Regions from separate parts of the Homo sapiens genome. Here region 1 is linked to region 2. Evidence: promoter capture Hi-C in human tissues and cell types (Jung and others, 2019). All regions are on one chromosome and are shown on one strand. The core of a region is centred on a gene start or on the middle of the fragment in contact, and the rest is flanking DNA. Distances in the headings are between cores, read along the strand shown.

The links. The method cuts DNA at HindIII sites, captures the fragments that hold promoters and counts their contacts. A contact is called where the count stands out against the background at its distance.
Region 1: a fragment that was not itself captured here is called in contact with the fragment with the promoter of ZSCAN4 in region 2 in 1 of the 25 tissues and cell types used here (spleen).

What each region holds. Positions count from the first base shown.
Region 1 is chr19:57,414,283-57,417,862 of GRCh38, reverse strand. All of the region lies in intron 2 of ZNF17 (zinc finger protein 17), which reads right to left. Among named protein-coding and RNA genes, the nearest start is that of ZNF17, 4.9 kb to the right of the region's middle. The HindIII fragment of the contact is 5,457 bases long and covers 1-3,580 here.
Region 2 is chr19:57,667,053-57,670,656 of GRCh38, reverse strand. ZSCAN4 (zinc finger and SCAN domain containing 4) reads right to left here and starts at 1,722. Exons shown (of 5, transcript NM_152677.4): 1 at 1,454-1,722; 2 at 90-412. The HindIII fragment of the contact is 8,369 bases long and covers 1-3,604 here.

The DNA.
Region 1 (3,580 bases), core at 321-2,820, 250 kb after region 2:
TTTTTTTTTTTTTTTTTGAGATGGAGTCTCGCTCTGTTGCCAGGCTGGAGTGCAGTGGTGTGATCTCGGCTCACTGCAAGCTCCGCCTCCCGGATTCAAGTGATTCTCCTGCCTCAGCCTCCTGAGTAGCTGGGATTACAGGCGCGTGCCACCATGACTGGCTAATTTTTGTATTTTTAGTAGAGATGGGGTTTCACCATGTTGTTCAGGCTGGTCTAGAACTCCTGACCTCGTGAACTGCCTGCCTTGGCCTCCCAAATTGCTGGGATTACAGGCATGAGCCACCACGCCCGGCCCATGAGCAACTTCTTATTCTGTTTCCTTAGATCTGTATTTATCTACTTGAAATCTAAGAATTAGAGGACCAAAATAACAACCAGCATTTTAACATTTCTCTTATAATCCAGATCCCATAGACTGAACTGCCTCCTATCTAACAATCACACATGATTCTTTCTCCTGCCCTAAATCAACACAAGGCTTGTACCACAAAAGGAGGGATAGTCCCTATACCCCAAGGCTGCCAAAATCATGCAAACTACCCAGTCTTAAGCTCTTCACTCTCCCCTGCATGCCTTTCCAGCCAAAACCCCAATAAAGCCACTGATATATGCTCTCCCTTCAACTGTGCATCTGCCACCTGACCAAATCCGCTATTTCCTCTGTGGCTTTATGTGATGTGGCATGCTCCCTGCACTCAGGAAATGAAAGGAATAAAAATCATTTCATCCAGGTATGATTTCTCACCAATTGAAAAAAAAAATTATTTCAATGTCATTGGCTTTTCTGTAATCACTCACTCTTGTTCACAGATTGAAATCCTGTGGGTACAATCACTGATACACTTCCCTCTCCAGGACCTTCAGTGCTCCTCACCACACCCACACACATCCACACCCTGCTAGCCTCCACCCACTTCTGAAGGAGGAAGAGACACTAGGTCTTCATGGCACCTGTACCTGCTCTCCCCTCATTGCCACTGATCACTGACTCCAGTATAGAACAAAGATGGGTGGGGGAAAGAGACTGAAAAGCGCCATCAAAACCTGGCACATGGCCGGGCATGGTGGCTCATGCCTCTAATCCCAGCACTTTGGGAGGCTGAGGCAGGTAGATCACAAGGTTAGGAGTTCAAGACCTGCCTGGCCAAGATAGTAAAACCCCATCTCTACTAAAAATACAAAAATTAGCCGGGCATGGTGGCAGGCACCTGTAATCCCAGCTACTCGGGAGGCTGAGGCAGAGTACTGCTTGAACCTGGGAGGCAGAGGTTGCAGTGAGCCGAGATCGCGCCACTGCACTCCATCCTGGGCAACAGAGCTAGACTCCATCTCAAAAAACAAAACAAAACAAAAAAAACACCTGGCACATGGGGGCCTACCTTTCTTTTGTCACTCAATTTCCCTAGAGTCACCCAGATCTTGCCTCTCAGATAACCAAACTTGGACTCACCCTCCTCCCTTAAGTGCCCAGTGCCAGAGGTGGAACCATCTATTCATGCTCCTCCACTCAGGCTTTGGATGGCACCTCCCTCATGTATCCAACACCTCCACTCTTGGCAACACTAACAACCACCACAGCCCAACTGGGAGTATTTCCATGGCGTGTTACCATGCCACTCTGCACATGAAATCCTGCAGTGCATGACAAATGCAACCAGAATCGTATTTGCCCCTAGAATGACCAGAATGCAATGTTTAGGAAACATTGCTTTGAACGTCTCCCAACCCAATCCTGTTTCTTTCTTTGACCTCAGCTTTCCAAACCCACATATTCTTGCACACCTCCTTTGAGTTCCAGATCTTGGCTGTCTCCCCCTTCTACATGTATATGTTGTCCCATAAGCAGTCACGACTTTCTCTATCCCCCAACTCTAATCCAAAGCCCAGATACACTGACCTCCCCAACACCATCCCCACCCCAGGACTAGCAATGCTTCTAGATGATCCCATCTTCTGCCAAAATAGTCTCAGAGTTCGCGTGAAACTACCCAGGTACAACCAATATTTGCCACAAAACCCTGTTGAGTCCATAATAGGGTACTAAGCCCCTCCCAGACCTCACTATCATCTCACCTCTTTTGTGGAGATGCCTCACCATCCAACTTTTATGTGCACTCTCCCCCTCAAAAGCCTTTATTTTCCAAAGGCCATCTCCAACATAAACACACAAATACACACACACATATCCTCAGTCCATCCACTCCCTCATCTGTCTTTGTGATGCCCAGCAACCCCATCCAGGTGCCCAACAGAAAGATCCAGTCCTCAGCCCCTTCCTTCCCCTTCCTTCTCCCTAACAGCATTGCCTCCAGAATCTAAAGATGTCTATTCCTAAATCTGACCCACAGATTTACCATGGTGTACACGCTGGCTATCATATAGTAGATGTCTCCATCCTGAACACCTCCATTGAACTCCATTCCTGTGTGTTCAACTGCCAGTCTGGCACCTCTACTCGAGTCTCTGGAACATTTTTGACTTAGCCCAAACCTCGTTCTTCATATGCTCTATTAAACTCCCCCTACTACAAAATTTACCACATCTTAGTTGCTGGAACATCCAACCTTCTCAACAAGGCCAAAACAATGGGGCCATTCCTGACTCCCTCTTGCATCCTACCTCCCGAGCTTCCTCGCTCTGTACATCAAAAAATGTGAGCAGCTCTAGATCAAAACCTACAGAAGCCACCCACCCCTCCCACCTCCACAGCCGCCACTCGTGTCCAGCCACCACCAACCTCCACTGGACTGTGGCAGGAATTATCACCCAGGTATCCTTGGTTCTTCCCTAACTCTCACTCTGTCCTCCATTCTGCAGGCAGAGGAAGCCTCTTAGAATCTAGGTCAAATCTGGCTGGGTGCAGTGGCTCAGGCCTGTAATTCCAGCACTTTGGGAGGCTGAGGCGGGCAGATCATGAGGTCAGGAGATCGAGACCATCCTAACACGGTGAAACCCTGGCTCTACTAAAAAATACAAAAAAAAGTTAGCCGGGCATGATGGCAGGTGCCTGTAATCCCAGCTACTTGGGAGGCTGAGGCAGGAGAATGGCGTGAACCCAGGAAGCGAAGCTTGCAGTGAGCCGAGTTCACGCCACTGCACTCTGGCCTGGGCGACAGAGGGAGACTCCGTCTCAAAAAAAAAAAAAAAGAATCTAGGTCAAATCACCTCTTTTTTCTTTCTCAAACCTTCCCTAGCTACTACCCCCCTCAGATTAAAGACCTAGAACCACTGGGCACGGTGGCTCATACCTGTAATCCCAGCACTTTGGGAGGCTGAGGCAGGCAGATCACTTGAGGCCAGGAGTTCGAGACCAGCCTGGCCAACATGGTGAAATCCTGTCTCTACTAAAAATACAAAAATTAGCTGGGTGTGTTGGTTCATGCCTGTAATCCCAGCTACTTGGAAGGCTGAGGCAGGAGAATTGCTTGAACCTGGGAGACAGAGGTCGCAATGATCCGAGATCACATCAATGCACTCCCGCCTGGGCGACAGAGTTAGCCTCTGTCTGGAAAAAAAAAAAAAAACAAGGCCAGGTGTGGTGGCTCAAGCCTGTAATCCCAGCACCTTGGGAGGGCCGA
Region 2 (3,604 bases), core at 473-2,972:
AAGACACAAAATTATGTATACACACTCAAAGACACAAAATGTATACACACTCAAAGGCACAAAATTTTCCTTCCATTATGGAAGCTTACCTCCTTGGTTGACTGGGTAATCCCGGGCCGAACACTGAGCTGATGTGTGACTAGCTTTCCACACTGGGTTTATCTGATGTGCCTCCTAAGGCTGCTCCCTTTTATAGGGGCTGGGATCAGTGATTGATTTAAAGACGTGATTGGATAACACTTGTCTGTTGATTGAATTACTGATGGAATCTTCATCCAGCCCCAGCTCCATGTCAGTGATTGATTTAAAGACGTGATTGGATAACACTTGTCTGTTGATTGAATTACTGATGGAATCTTCATCCAGCCCCAGCTCCATGTCTCTAATACAGTGTTCTATACCATCACTGGTCCTGGGTCAACAGGTCATAAACAAACACATTAATATTTCTGCAGGCTAGGTGCAGTGGCTCACACCTGTAATCTCAGCACTTTGGGAGGCTGAGGCAGGCAGATCACCTGAGATCAGGAGTTCAAGACCAGCCTGGCCAACATGGTGAAACCCTTTCTCTACTAAAAATACAAAAATTAGCCGGGCATGGTGGTGGGCACCTGTAATCCCAGCTACTTGGGAGGCTGAGGCAGGAGAATTACTTGAACCTGGGAGGCAGAGGCTAGAGTGAGCCAAGATTGCGCCACTGCATTCCAGCCTGGGAGACAGAGCAAGACTCTGTGAATCCCTAGCCTGAGCAACAAAGCAAGACCCTGTCTCTACCAAAAATAATGTTAAAAATGTTAGCCAGGCATGGTGGCATGTCTGTGTAGCTTGTTTGAGCCAGGGAGTTCATGGCTACAGTGGATTATGACCGCCCTACTGAACTCTGGCCTGGGAAATGGAAGGAGACCAAGTCTCTAAAAAAAAAACAAAACAAAACGAACAAAAAAAAAACCATGCCTGTAATCCCAGCACTTTTGGAGGCCGAGGTGGGCGGATCACGAGGTCAAGAGTTCGAGACCAGCCTGGCCAATATGGTGAAACCCCATCTCTACTAAAAATGCAAAAATTAGCCAGGCGTAGTGGCGCGTGCCTGTAGTCCCAGCTATTCAGGAGGCTGAGCAGAAGAATTGTTTGAACCACAGAGGCGGAGGTTGCAGTGAGCTGAAATTGTGCCACTGCACTGCAGCCTGGGCGACAGAGGTAGACTGTCTCAAAAACCAACAAACAAACAAACACACACAAAAATACAAAATCTGCGGTAAAATGTAACAAGGTCCACATTAAATGAAAATATAAAGACAGGCTGGGTGTGGTGGCTCGCGCCTGTAATCCCAGCACTTTGGGAGGCCGAGGCAGGTGGATCATGAGGTCAGGAGTTTGAGACCAGCCTGACCAACATGGTTAAACCCGGTTTCTATTAAAAATACAAAAATTATCTGGGCGTGGTAGCATGCACCTGTAATCCCAGCTACTCAGGAGGCTGAGGCAGAAGAATTGTTTGAATCCAGGAGGCAGAGGTTGCAGTGAGCCGAGATTACGCCACGGCACTCCAGCCTGGACGACAGAGCGAGACTGTGTCTCAAAAAAAAAAAAAAAAAAAAGGAAAATATAAAGACAAACGTTAGTCTCACAAATTCTGATCAAGTTTTATTATAAATTACTCATAGAAACATGACAAACTTTTGCTCAAACTTTTAAGTTTTCAGAGATTTATGAATTACAAGGGTGGCAGAGGGCAAGGCTAATGCTGTGACTCCTGTGCCAATTCCAGGCTGGTGAAACAGAGGGGGCCCGGGACCCAGAGAAGGCATTCCTAATCCATCAAAAAGATGACAGGGGTTGAGACTAGGATTATATCAGTGGAAAGGGAGAAATTGGTGCATATTTTATATTGAGAAAGCATATGATGTTTGATAGACTTAACATGAGGCTTGAGAGAGATGGAGGAGTTAAAATGGTGAGAAGCGCCTGGTCACCTAGTGTGGTGGAAGCTGTGCCTTCTTCCCTGCACTCTCCCTCCCCACTTTCCACCCTCATACAGGCTGAGGCTTTGGTGGAGTTGAGAACGTATCGAAGGGGTGGGAGCTAATTACAGCCATGTGTTTCATCTGCTCCATCAGGCATGCAGCCTCTTGGGGCTTAGATTGTCCCCCTATCACTGTTGGGTACAGAGTTTGAATCTCCTGGTACTCCACTGATGAAATGTCTGCTTGACTTCCCCACATTAGGAATTATGTTCTGAATCCTCACATTATAAGACTGTGTACTAGTCCATTTCTCCAAGGAGTTTCATCCACATATACTCCATACAGAGAAGTATCCCTGCTCCCATCAAGAGCCAATTTTCCACTGGTGGTTTAGGTCCTGTCACCAACTATGTCATTAAACCAACTGTGACAGGAAAATTGGCTCTTGATGGAAGCAGGGATACTTCTCTGCTACAACAATGAAAAATGGGCTGGGCGCAGTGGCTCATGCCTGTAATCCCAGCACTTTGGGAGGCCGAGGCGGGTGGATCACCTGAGGTCAGGAGTTTGAGACCAGCCTGGCCAACATGATGAAACCTCGTCTCTACTAAAAAAATACAAAAATTAGCCAGGCATGGTGGCAGGCACCTGTAATCCCAAGTACTCGGGAGCCTGAGGCAGGAGAATCACTTGAACCTGGGAGGCCGAGGTTGCAGTGAGCCAAGATCGCACCACTGCTCTCCAGCCTGGGCGACAGAGTGAGACTCTGTCTCAAAAACAAACAAACAAACAAACAAAAAACAAACAAAAAAAAAACAATGAAAAATGTAGACAATGTGAGTACCACTGGAGGCCAGTTGTTAATTTGTGGTGGGTTGAAAGCATTTCCTGTCTGCTTCTGCAGTCTCAAGGAGTTCCTTGAGCTCTGTAAGGAGCTGTAAGGAAAAGGTTTGGGGAAAAGCTGGCAATTTCTGTTTGGAGGAGGTTATTGGATTTTTGAGTTCAGATATACAGCCAGCTGTTGGACATGCTGGTGTGTAACTCTGGGAGCAGTTAGACCTGAGGCACGATGATATCAGTAAGAGTAGTAATAGCATCAGGGATCATAATAACTAACCTTTAAGCAGTCAGGGCATATTTGACTCTGTTCTCAGTGCTTTCTGTATGTTAACCCATTTCCATCACAACAGTCCTGTAAAGTAGATCCTAAATAACTCCATTTTAACATCAAAATAACAGAGGCACAGAGAAGTTCAGTACCTTGGCCAGTGCTACATAGCCTGTAAGTGGCTGGGCTAGGATTTGATACCTGGCTCCAGAGTGGGACTCTGAATGCTACATTAAGAAGGCAAAGACACACAGCCACTGTGTAAAACCAGCAGCTTTCTAGGGAATGGGCTAATGGAGGAGTGAAGGGCATGAGCAGGAGGATTTATCCTTGGGGAAACACAGATGGTGGAGGAAATGACCTGGTGATACCCCAACTTAGGCATAGAATAAACAGGCACAAAACAATAAAAATAAATGTGAAATCCACATAGTAATTTAATCAAATAAGGATATTACAAAGACAACTATCAAATGCTTTTCTGATCAATTGGGAAGGCAGGTAGTGCTGCCTTTGGTAAAAATAGATGACC